Regions from separate parts of the Homo sapiens genome. Here all the other regions are linked to region 1. The links are contacts of gene promoters, found by promoter capture Hi-C in blood cells and fetal thymus (Javierre and others, 2016). All regions are on one chromosome and are shown on one strand. The core of a region is centred on a gene start or on the middle of the fragment in contact, and the rest is flanking DNA. Distances in the headings are between cores, read along the strand shown.

Region 1 (3,748 bases), core at 903-3,402:
CTGCTGGGTGAATAAAACAGGCAGCCCCTCCCCAGCAACCCTAGCCTTGAACCCTGGGCGATGAGGTGGGGGTGGAGGGGCTGGGCCTCTTCCATGTCCTTTTGCAGGACTGCCTTCCCATAAGGAGAGGCTGGGCATCACAATCTGGCTGAGAATAAAATTAAGGAGTTTCGGGGAAATGCTGCTGTGAAGAAAGACTTGGGCTTGGAACTCCCACTCTGTCTTTTTGGGGGACAACTCCTCTTTGGCAGGGAGTAGGGCAGCTGCTTTTCTGGCTCCCAAAGCCCAAGGGTGAAGAAAAGTCTGCTGGGGAAGAAGAGAGTGGAGCTTCCTAAAAGAACTGAGACCTTTGCAAGAGTGATAGAGGATGCCCCTGGGGAGGGGGGAGGGGGAAATCAGCAGTTCATGGGGGAAGTTCAAACCCCAGAGCCTCCTTCCAAAGTCAGTCGGCTTCCTGGATTTGTTAAAATGGAATGGGGAGACACGGTAAGGTGGGAAGGGTGGGAGGGGTGGAAGTAGAGGAAGGAGGAAAGGGGACACTGGTGGAACTTAAATAAGATTTTAATTGTTTTTTGTTTTAATTTTTTATTCTAGCAAACAGCCCACTGAACATGGCACTAAACCTCTCTCCTTCCCAGGCAGGATTACGCCAAAGGGTAGGTGTGCTTTTCATTCATCCTCTCTTAGTAAGTGGTGCCTGTTCAGGGCTGGAGTTAAGTTTGAGCCCCTCTTTCCACACCGTGTCCCTTGATACAACAGCAAGACCTGGCCTGAATAGAGCTGAGAAACTCGTTTAAAACAGGCAGAAGGGGGCTGGGGCAAGGGGGACCCTGTGGGAGGAGAAAGAGAGAAGCACAGAGGGACCAGGAAGGCATGGGGGGGGGTGAGGGAGCAGCTGGTGTTTCTGTTCCTCCAAATATCTGGGCTTCCTGCTCCCCCAACCCTGGAGGGTGGGGTGAGGATGAAATTAGATACAAGGAACTCTGGGGCCCTCTGGCTGTTCAATCCAACCCTCCCATCCCCCAAACCACCAAAAACAAAAAGGAAAGAAAACCCACAGGGGCACAAGCACACCCCTAAAACTCAGAAAACTCCTTGGCACACTTCTCATTGATGGAGATCCGGAGCTCTTCCTCCTCGTAGTCGTCAAAGTTACTGGCATCCCCAGGGCCTGTGTACTTCGGGATGAAGGGAGCTTCCACCTTCTTCTCATAGATGGCGATCCAGCTGGTTGTGGCGAACCACTTGTGGTTCTTGATGTCGCCAACCCCGTTCCTGAGGTTTCCGAAGCGCTTGGTGAGGTCCACCTGCAGCAGGCTCCGCAGCAGATGCTTGAGGTCAGAGCTGAGTTTGGAGGGAAACCGCACCCTCCCAGAGACGATCTTCTCGTAGATCTGGATGGGCTGGTCGGCGTAGAAGGGTGGGAAGCCCACGGCCATCTCATAGATGAGCACCCCTAGGGCCCACCAGTCCACGGCCTTGTTGTAGCCTTTGCTCAGGATGATCTCGGGGGCCAGGTACTCTGGGGTCCCGCACAAGGTCCAAGTGCGGCCCTTCACGCGCTTGGCGAAACCGAAGTCCGTCACCTGCAGGTAGCCCTGCTGGTCGATGAGGAGATTCTCGGGCTTCAGGTCGCGGTGGATGAGGTCGAGCGAGTGTAGGTACTGGACGGCCAGGACGACCTGGGCGGCATAGAAACAGGCATGGGGCTCGCTAAACCTTCCGACGCGCTGTAGGCGGGAGAACATCTCCCCACCCGGCACGTACTCCATCACCAGGTACAGGTAGGAGTTGTCCTTAAAGGAGAACTGGAGCTTGACGAGGAACGGAAAGTCGATCGCCTGCAGGATGCGCTTCTCGTTCAGTATGTGCTCGACCTGCTTCATCTTCACCACCTTCTGCTTGTTGAGGATCTTCATGGCGTAGTGGCCGCCGGTCTCCTGGTGCCTCACCAGCATCACCCGCCCGAAGGAGCCCATGCCCAGCGTCCTGAGCCGTTCGAACTGATCCGAGCTGGCGGTGTTTTGAGCGGGGTTTCCCCATCTGTAGAGGAAATCTCCTCTGGCTTTGGCTAGGAACTCGTTCACGCTCTCCTCCTGCTCGGTGTCCTTCTTGGCGGGGGCGTTGCCCATGGCGGTGGCGGCGGCAGGGGCGGGGGTCTCGCGGCGGCGGCGGCGGCGGCGGCAGCGGCGGAGATGGCGCCCCCTGGGGCTGGCTGCGCTGGCTGCGGCGCTGCGACCCCCGCCCGGCCTCCGCTTATATTCCCAGCTACATGGGAGGCTGAGATGGGAGGATTTCTTGAGCCTGGGAGGTCAAGGCTTCAGTGAGCCAAGATCACGCCGCTGCACTCAACAATATGGATAAATCCAAAAGGCATTATGCAAGTGAGAGAAGCCAACTCTAAAGGAGACTTACTGTATGAATCCATTTCTATGACATTCCAGAAAAGGCAAAACTATAGTGTGAGAGAACAGATCAGTGATTGCCAGGGCTTGGGGTTAGGGGACGGTTGGACTATGAAGGGACAGCCTGAGGGAATGTGGGAAGTGGTGGGACATGTTTGTATCCTGATTGTGCTGGTGGTTACAATGTATTGGGTGGTGGTCTACATTTGTTTTAAAACTCATAGAACTGGCCGGGCGCAGTGGCTAAAGCCTGTAATCCCAACACTTTGGGAGGCCGAGGCGGGCGGATCACAAGGTCAGGAGTTCGAAACCAGCCTGACCACCATAGTGAAACCCCGTCTCTACTAAAAATACAAAAAAATTAGCCAGGCGTGGTGGCGCATGCCTGTAATCCCAGCTACTCGGGAGGCTGAGGCAGGAGAATTGCTTGAACCTGGGAGGCAGAGGTTGCAGTGAGCAGAGATCGTGCCACTGCACACCAGCCTGGGCAATAAGAGTGAAACTCCATCTCAAAAACAAACAAACAAACAAACAAACACCTCAAAGAACTGTATACTTCCCCCCAAAATTCAGTTTTACTGCATGTAATGTTTTATTTTAACACATACATATGATTTCCTTTCTTCTGTTTGCTTTGGGTTTAATTGCTCTTATTTCCTAAGGTGGGAACTAAGGTCACTGATTTGAAATCTTTCTTCTATTACAATCACTTAGTGCTATAAATTTCCTCCTAAGTATTATTTTTTGCAGCATCCCACAAATTTTGGTATGTTGTATTTTCCTTTTCATCCAGCTCAAAATATTTTCTAAGCTCCCTTTTCATCTTCTTTGACAGATAAGCTATTTAAAAGTATATTATTTCGTTTCCAAATACTTGGGGATTTTTCAAGAATTTTCCTATTGATTTCTGATTTAATTCCATTGTTAGAAAACATACTCTGTGTGACCTAAAATGTTTTACACTTCTTGGGGCTCATTTTATGGCCCAGAATATGATCTATCTTGGTAGATGGCCCATATGCACTTGAGAAGAATGTATATTCTGGTGTATTCTGCTGTTTGAGGATACAGTGTTCTACAAATGTCACTTAGGTCAAGTTGGCTAGTAGTAGTGTTCAGGTCTTCTATATTCTTATTGACTTTCTGTTTACTTATTCTATCAATTATTAAAAACATGCCACAGGAGTTTATGAGAAGTCAAAGTACATAGATGATGGGCCTTCCATCACTCCCCCAGGCCACCATGTCAGCCGCCCCACACACCCTCCAGAAGACTGCCAGCACTCAGCCATCACAGGGTGGGTTCTGAGCTGCTCTCCCCAGTCAATTCTGTACAAAGATTC
Region 2 (3,748 bases), core at 699-3,198, 200 kb before region 1:
GGAGAGCTTTACATTGAATGTAAGACACCATAGTTCTATTTTTACAGCTTCTAAGCATACAAATGTGTAACATACCATATGTCTGAACATATGTATGTAGAAGTGGCCTCCATTGTACAAATATTTAACATACAGATTTTCTGCATTTCTTTGAGAGTTTATGCAAATATTCTTTAAAAAACTCTAAGCCTATAGTTTCTTAATATAAGAATTTTTTCTGGTCTGAAAAATACAGGCATTTCTGCTTTGGAAACTATGTTAAGGATTGTTTCAGTTTGGTGTTTTTTTTGTTGTTTAAGCCTCAGAAAATAACCCAGCACATTTTAAACCTTTGCTTTCTCCTGCTTTTTGTTGTTGTTGTTGTTACTGTTGTTTTTGTTGCCAAACCCACATTAAAAAAAATACCACGCCTCTTTGTAAGGGCTCTAGAAGAAGAACTATAATACTTCCTATCTTCCCAGCAAAACTGTTTACCAGGCTGACGTTTTCCTAAGAATAGCTCCCTAGGTTTTCATGAATCCATATAAATTTCCACACATTTGTTTTTTATTCTGGCACAAAATTTAAGAGGGACTTACGATCATAGGTGGAAGGAGCAATGAGGAAGTCTGTTGGTAACCCTTTAGGTAACATCCTAAACCTCGGGCTACTTGCGGGCAAATTGTTAAAATGCAGGACTCATGATCTCTGAGTACACCCATGAAAATTTAAATACCCTTCACGGTGCTGGGTCTTTTTGTAAGCAAGCCAACACGGTGCCCAGACTCTTTTCCACCCTCTAGCTCTCAACCTTATGTCCCCAGCAAACGGCTCTAAGTCCAATTTCAGTGTTCTTCATAAGTGAAGCTTTCCATGAGCCCCACAGGCTGACTTATGCAGTTCCTCCTCCAAAAACCCAGAGTAAAGGACATGCCACATTGTAAATTGTAGCCACTGCAATGCCTGTCTCTCCTGCTAATAGGATTCCTTTGAAGACGAGTACCTGTCCTTGTCATTATGGCCCCGGGCCTAGCTTACTGCCTGACATGTTATGCTCCATAAATGTTCATTGAATGAATGAAAGAGTGAATTTATTTGGTGTTAGGTAATAAAAATGAATTCAAAAGAGCATAAATAAAACAAAAATGATTGACTTTAACATGCAGGTGTGACCAAGGCCCAAATTATCTTCCAATTGCTTTGTCTTTCGGGAAATGCGCTAGGAAATGTTAACATACACAGCCTGAATGGCATGAAAATATTTGAATATGGCTATCCTATTGGAAGCCCAATTCCCATAGGGCAAGTTGCACTCATAATGACCAAATAATCAATGAGTCCTCTCCTCATTCCAAAGAGGATTTGAAGTGAGGCCCTACCTAAGAAACTTGGCAGAGGCACCAAAACAAAAGCACTATCTAATGGAGTTAGCGCAATTCATAATCGAAGAGAAGTGGACAGCAGCAGAGATGGACATGAAACCCAGGCCTTCGGAGGCCTATCCCAGCGTTCTTCCAATTCATTCTTGTTGCTTCACTTTATCAGTGTTTAATAAAGTGTTTGTTTTTATGGGAAGATGAGTAAGGACTCGTGGCTAGTGTCCCTTAACCTCTTGTGTCTACAGATTGGCCTACTTAGTTAAGTGATTAGGTAATTAGCAATTCTCCCACTTATTTGGCCATGTATGAGAAGCAAACTCATCTGTGGCAAATTAAAAATACTGAGTTTTATGGCCCTAGTTGGGGAATTAGAGGTTGAAAGGGTTGCTTCTGACTCACATATGGCCCCCAGGCACAATATATCTAAAACTTTCGGTAACTATAGAGTTTTAAAAAGCTCCTCTACCACCTTTTCAATTAAGACATGCCCTCTGGGTTGAGGCTTACTGATGTAGAACAAGTTTTATAGGAAAAAATTATGTAAATTAATATAATTGGCTAACCTTTTGATTGCACTTACAAATTGAAAAATGCGGTGCAATATTGATTAGACAATCTTCTCATTGTTTTTAAGTAGGAGAAAACAAGTAAAAGAGAGAGGTGTATGGTGGAAAGAGCATTAGTTTTGAAGTCAGACAACCCTGGATCAAATCTCAGCCCTACCACTTGACTGGACTCCAGGAAAATCATCCCAAGTCACAACCTCGCTCCTCTCCTTCCTCCTAGACTTAATGCAGGGGCTGCAGTAGACCCTGACTACTTGGTAGTGATCTATTTAAGCTCTTAACGGATTCCCAGAGCTATAACAATAGAAACGTGTGTACCAGTTCCTAGCCTACCTCCCAATCCACATTTCCATTGAGAATCATGTTTCTCAGGCTTATTCCCCTACTGCTTTCCCACTTTCATTATACTTTCTGTTTTGTTTTATGGCCCATCATTGGGTCGTTTGTCCTTAGAGCCATTCCTTACTCTTCCTGTGTTCTGTATCACAGGGAAGTCATCCCATATAGGATGCATTTCTCAGGCTTCCTATGGGCTCAGATGCTTTTCATGAGGTTGGTCTCTGGGAGCCATAGACAGGGATTGGCGGGTAGAAGGTAGATGAGAAAAACCAGGATGTTCTCCCCCAACCTGTGTGTCTTAGGTGGCATCTCCAATAGTGACTGTCTTCTCCATGCTTCTAAACATACCCCTCCTACTGCAGTTCCAACTTCTGCCAGTCAACCCCCGTCCTGATGTTCTGACCCCAGCTGACCTCTGCTTTTGAGGTCTGTTAACACCACCTTCTCTTGTGCCTGCAGCCCTAAAAGCAATAGTGGCATCATGTTGATTGTGATCTGTTTCATCACCATCTCTTGCTTAGCTTTTCAGTTCACCCATCACTTTTATAACCAATTCCATGTATTAAATATCCCCTCTTTAATATACCCAAAGTGGTTTCTGTTTTCCCTAATAGACCCTGAAAGCAATCCTGAAGTGATAAACTCTCTTTATTGCCTTTTCTGGTCACAGTAGCTTAGATGATCCCAAGCCTGTGAAGCGTGCTGAAAATACTGACTCCCTAGGTCTACCACGCAGAGGTAGTGATTCCCTGGTTTCAGTGTGTGGCCCCAGAAGCTGAATTTTCAAAAAGCTTCCCTGGTGGTTGTAATGCCCAGCACTGATTTAGAGAATGGCAAAGCCAGGCTGAGATGGAGGTGCGTGGGGTGGGAATGGATGGTTGCTAGGTTCATTCACCAACTAAGGGCGTCACTTTTACAAACCAGCCTCACAGCAAGAGAGCCCAGCTCAGCAAAATTAAAATGACTGCATCCCATGGACTTTATAGGACACTTACAAGTGTCAAAATAGCACATGTTAAATTGGGGAGTGCCAACGGATTCTTTGAAGAATAAATGAAATCACATATGTGGCAGCATTTCACACATCGTAGTTGCTCAATACATGATCTTCCCTTCTCTCAAATTGAGTGAAAACATAGAACTATAGAAAGCTATGAAATAGTATAAATTATTTATTCCTTAAGGTCACAGAATCCAGATACTAAATACCAGAAATAATAGATAAGTAACTACATAGTCAAAAAAAAGTCATTGTCTGGCACATATTATTGCTCACTGAGCTGGTGCTAAACAGTCCAATCATATGACACCATAGGTTAGCTCTCTTTCATATCAGAAATAATTTTTGAAAATAAGTTTTAACTAGGACTCTTGTGTCAGATTACATAGTAACATCTTCTAAGGAGACATGAACCTTGTGAGTATGTCCTTACTTGGCCATTGGAATTTCTGCATTCCAGGCTCTTGCCAGAGACTACAACTTTG
Region 3 (3,748 bases), core at 418-2,917, 140 kb before region 1:
CTGTCAGATCACTGGCAGCATTAGATTCTCATAGGAGCACAAACCCTGTAGTGAACTGTGCATACAAGGGATCTAGGTTGTTTGCTCCTTATGAGAATGTAATGCCCGATGATCTGAGATGGAACAGTTTCATCCCAAAACCATCCCCCCATTTCCACTGTCTGTGGAAAAATTGTCTTCCACAAAACTGGTCCCTGGTGCCAAAAAGGTTGGGGACCACTGTCTTATATCATGTGGGTCAGCATACAACAGCCCATGGGACAGGCCCCGCTAACTGCCCGTTTTTGTAAATAAGGTTTAATTGGAATAAAGCCACATCCATTCATTTACAAATTGTCTGCGGCTGCTATCTACAATGGCTGCAGAGTTGAGTAATTGCTACAGAGACTGTATGGCCCACAGAGCTCGAAATATTATCTGGCCCTTTATAGAAAAAGATTGCCAAGGCTGGCTGCAGTGGCTCACGCCCGTAATCCCAGCACTTTGGGAGGCCGAGGTGGGAAGATCACATGAGCTCAAGAGTTTGAAAGCAGCCTGGGCAATATAGTGAGACCTCATCTCTTTATATTTAATAAAAATAAAAATAAATAAAAAAGAAAAAGATTACCAACTCCTGATCTATACAAACATTCTGCACCAGTTTTTATGTACATGTGGGTAGAAGACAAAGCTGCCAGCTTAGTCTTCTTGGGAGAAAATGAGAAGTGACTGCTGCTGGGCAAGCCATAATATGATGCTCCTTCAAATCAAAACTCTTTATGTCTTTGTTCAGCGTGTATTTGGTGAGGATGGGGAGAAACTGATTTCCTATTACTAAAAGCCATATACCTCTTCCTTTAGCTCAAAGGATTTATTGCATGCACTGGATATTATACAATATTCTACTTTATTTGAAGTTATCTTCAAGCACGGTTTTCCAGTATGGTAATAACTTCTTGGATGGTTTAATGTTTATATAACCGATGATGTCACATGTTCCCAGTAAATGACATCCCGGAATGCACTGTTTGGTTGGGGAATTTAAGCTGTCTTCAGATGCTGACTTTTACAGATTGGCTGTCAGCTGGTTGGTCTCTGAAGATGGTGCAGCCTCGTCTTATACAATGCAGTTCATGTGTACCCATCACAGAACTGCTCAGCAACAGGAGGTTGGCACCAGCAAGGAATGTGTCTTTTGTTTTGCTTTGTTTTGTTTTTCCATTCATGAGCACTCTCTAATTTGGCAAAAAAGAGGACCAATTTCTGTCTCTCTCTCTCTAGTTACGTAAAGAATTGTATGTGGAAACCAAGGGATATCCACCTTGGCTGAATTGGCAGAGGCAATTAATAATACCTTAAGGCCGCTTTTACAGACTGCTGTGTACGAAGGTCCAACTTGAAGACTGGGTACCATCAGTAGTTTGTTACTGGATTGTAGTGGCATTCACCCAACTGTAGTGCCACTTAAGCTTTCCTAATGTCTGCACATCAAGACAAAGCACCCTTCATTTATCCTGTCATACAGAGGGTAAGGTCATGTTTGTTGAATACAAGTGAGGGCATTTAGCATCCTTTAGCGACACTGACCACTATCACCCAGGAGTTGCGTAAGTACTAGTTTTGTCAAAAGTCCTCAGAGCCACTATTGATGGTTTGGTTACAATTTGAAATAAACAAAGCTCACTAAATGGAAAATGCTGCTCTAGAGGCAAGAAAGCTCTGAGTCTCAGCTCCAAAACTGGTCCCCTTGTGTTGTCTTTGAGATGCTAAATTAGTTTTACCCCATTGCTTACCACCACATCTCTCAGTCCAGTGCCACCAAAACTAGCACTTGGTCATCAGGCTCTAAAACCCCATAAACAAAGCTGTGTTGTTATTAGTACATAGAGAGGAGAACACCAACTGACCAAAGCTTCTGTAAGTGAAATTCTACCCACCAGCCCCTGTGGTGTGAAGGCCTCATGTGGAAGTAATTGGGATATTTGGGCAGGGAGAAACCCCTGAAACTTGTAACAGAATCCTGAAAAGGAGGAATAACAGAGGAACGTCAAGTCTAAGTTAAGCCATTCCTATCTGCTTATGACTTTTCTGCTGTTCTGATGTGAGTCTAATCTCCCAATCTTGTTTGTTCCTGATCAGTTTGGGCCATTGTTTTCCCTCCCTGGACTATGATTTATCTGCTAAATGGGGAATTCCAGATGGCGGCTAATGCTTCCTCAAGCTTCAACATTGTGTAATTCTGAACATACGTTGCCATTAAGATATATGTATTTTTAGACTAAGACAAGCAGTAGCTTTGGCCTTAAAAATGAACTTGCCTCAGAAGAGGTGAATATCAGAATGCCAGAGCTGGTCTGTGATTGAACTTTAACTGCTTCTTAGTGAATAAGTGGGGAAGAGGACAGAGAAACTTCTGTTCTTTATTTGAAATTTCTTTCTCCTTTTTTGGAGCTAAAAATGCCCTGATGTGATAGGGATTGTAACGTGTGCTTGCTTAATTGTTTAGGTTCTTACTTGGCAAAATAAATTTGGAAATCCAAGGTTGGATTCCAAACTTTTGTTGTCGAAATTTTACTGGCCCATGGGATCCAAGCATCTAGAACCACTGCTCAAAACCCCATAGCTGAGATTTCCAAAGCTTCAACTTACGCCAAGACAAGAAAGTCAGTTGTCGGGTGTTTTTTTTTTTTTTCCACACCCTACATAAGTGCATTGAAGAAATATAAGGTAAATCTTAAACTGTGAGGAGTTCTACTCTTTTTCTGACTTCATTTTTGCTAAGTCTGGATGCTGAGCACAGTTACTCAACAGGTAACTCCAGTCTCAAGCAAGGAAAGCCTGTGGACTTCAGGAGGCAAACGTTGATTGCGGTCATTGTGTTTGAATGTTGGCAGTTCTGCCATGGTGGAAGTTGCTAAGCACTTGGTACCTGTGCTGTGGAGATTCTGTGCTGAACGCCTGTGGGCTGGCACCCACATCTACACACAGTAAATGTGCCAGCGTGGGGCCTCAGAGAACCAAGGTTGTTGCCTGCTGGCTGACCTTCACTGGACTTGCTGTTTTGTTCTCTGCACTCGTGCTCCCCTGACAAATATCCGGGCCCAGCAGGGGCCAGCGATCTCATTAATTTGCATTTCCTTCACTAGAGCTTCATTCATGTCAAGCTGGTATTTGTTATTCATTGGAACAGCTTAAATATGCAGAGGTAAACAAACCTTCTGCTGTGGTGCTGAGCACGGAGGGCTCAGTTTGGGGGAAGAGGAATCAGTTTATGGCTTTTAACCTCTAACTTTTTAAATTTATTTAATTTTGTGAATGATAATACACAGCAAGGCTTGTCCTGTTCTTAAAAGGAATACTGTGAAGAGTTCCTTTTGTCCCTGTGCCTTTTTTTCAGTGTCCAGCTCCAGTTATCACTGTTACTTGTGGCTGTTTTTTCCTTCAAGGATTTTTTATGTATATGCATGCCAAAAGAATATTTGTTTTCTTTTTTATGCAAGTGGTGACATCCCCTACACAGCATTCTGCATCATGTTTCATCCACTTAACAATTTATCTTAGAGATCTTGCCATGTCAGTACATAATAAGCACCCTTATTCTTTTCTTAATACCACATAGAATTCCATTGTGTAGCTGAATCATAATTAATTAGACAAGTTCTCTCCTGAAGGCCATCCAGGTTACCATAATGAGTAACCATGTTCACATATATTGTTTTGGACAAATGCTAGTTTATCCATAGGATAACATAGGCATGCATTTGCTGGA

The links. Contacts are between HindIII fragments. The CHiCAGO score rates a contact against its expected background, and 5 or more counts as called.
Region 2: a fragment that was not itself captured here is called in contact with the fragment with the promoter of PRKACG in region 1 in 2 of 17 cell types (megakaryocytes and erythroblasts); the score reaches 7.0 in megakaryocytes.
Region 3: a fragment that was not itself captured here is called in contact with the fragment with the promoter of PRKACG in region 1 in 1 of 17 cell types (erythroblasts); the score reaches 5.7 in erythroblasts.

Annotation. Positions count from the first base shown.
Region 1 is chr9:69,011,961-69,015,708 of GRCh38, forward strand. PRKACG (protein kinase cAMP-activated catalytic subunit gamma) reads right to left here and starts at 2,153. Exons shown (of 1, transcript NM_002732.4): 1 at 544-2,153. The coding sequence starts at 2,132. The coding sequence ends at 1,077. The HindIII fragment of the contact is 8,295 bases long and covers 1-3,748 here.
Region 2 is chr9:68,808,931-68,812,678 of GRCh38, forward strand. The region is part of intron 2 of PIP5K1B (phosphatidylinositol-4-phosphate 5-kinase type 1 beta); the gene reads left to right. Among named protein-coding and RNA genes, the nearest start is that of PABIR1, 31 kb to the left of the region's middle. The HindIII fragment of the contact is 2,208 bases long and covers 845-3,052 here.
Region 3 is chr9:68,869,251-68,872,998 of GRCh38, forward strand. The region is part of intron 5 of PIP5K1B (phosphatidylinositol-4-phosphate 5-kinase type 1 beta); the gene reads left to right. Among named protein-coding and RNA genes, the nearest start is that of PABIR1, 91 kb to the left of the region's middle. RefSeq lists an enhancer at 2,892-3,476. The HindIII fragment of the contact is 443 bases long and covers 1,447-1,889 here.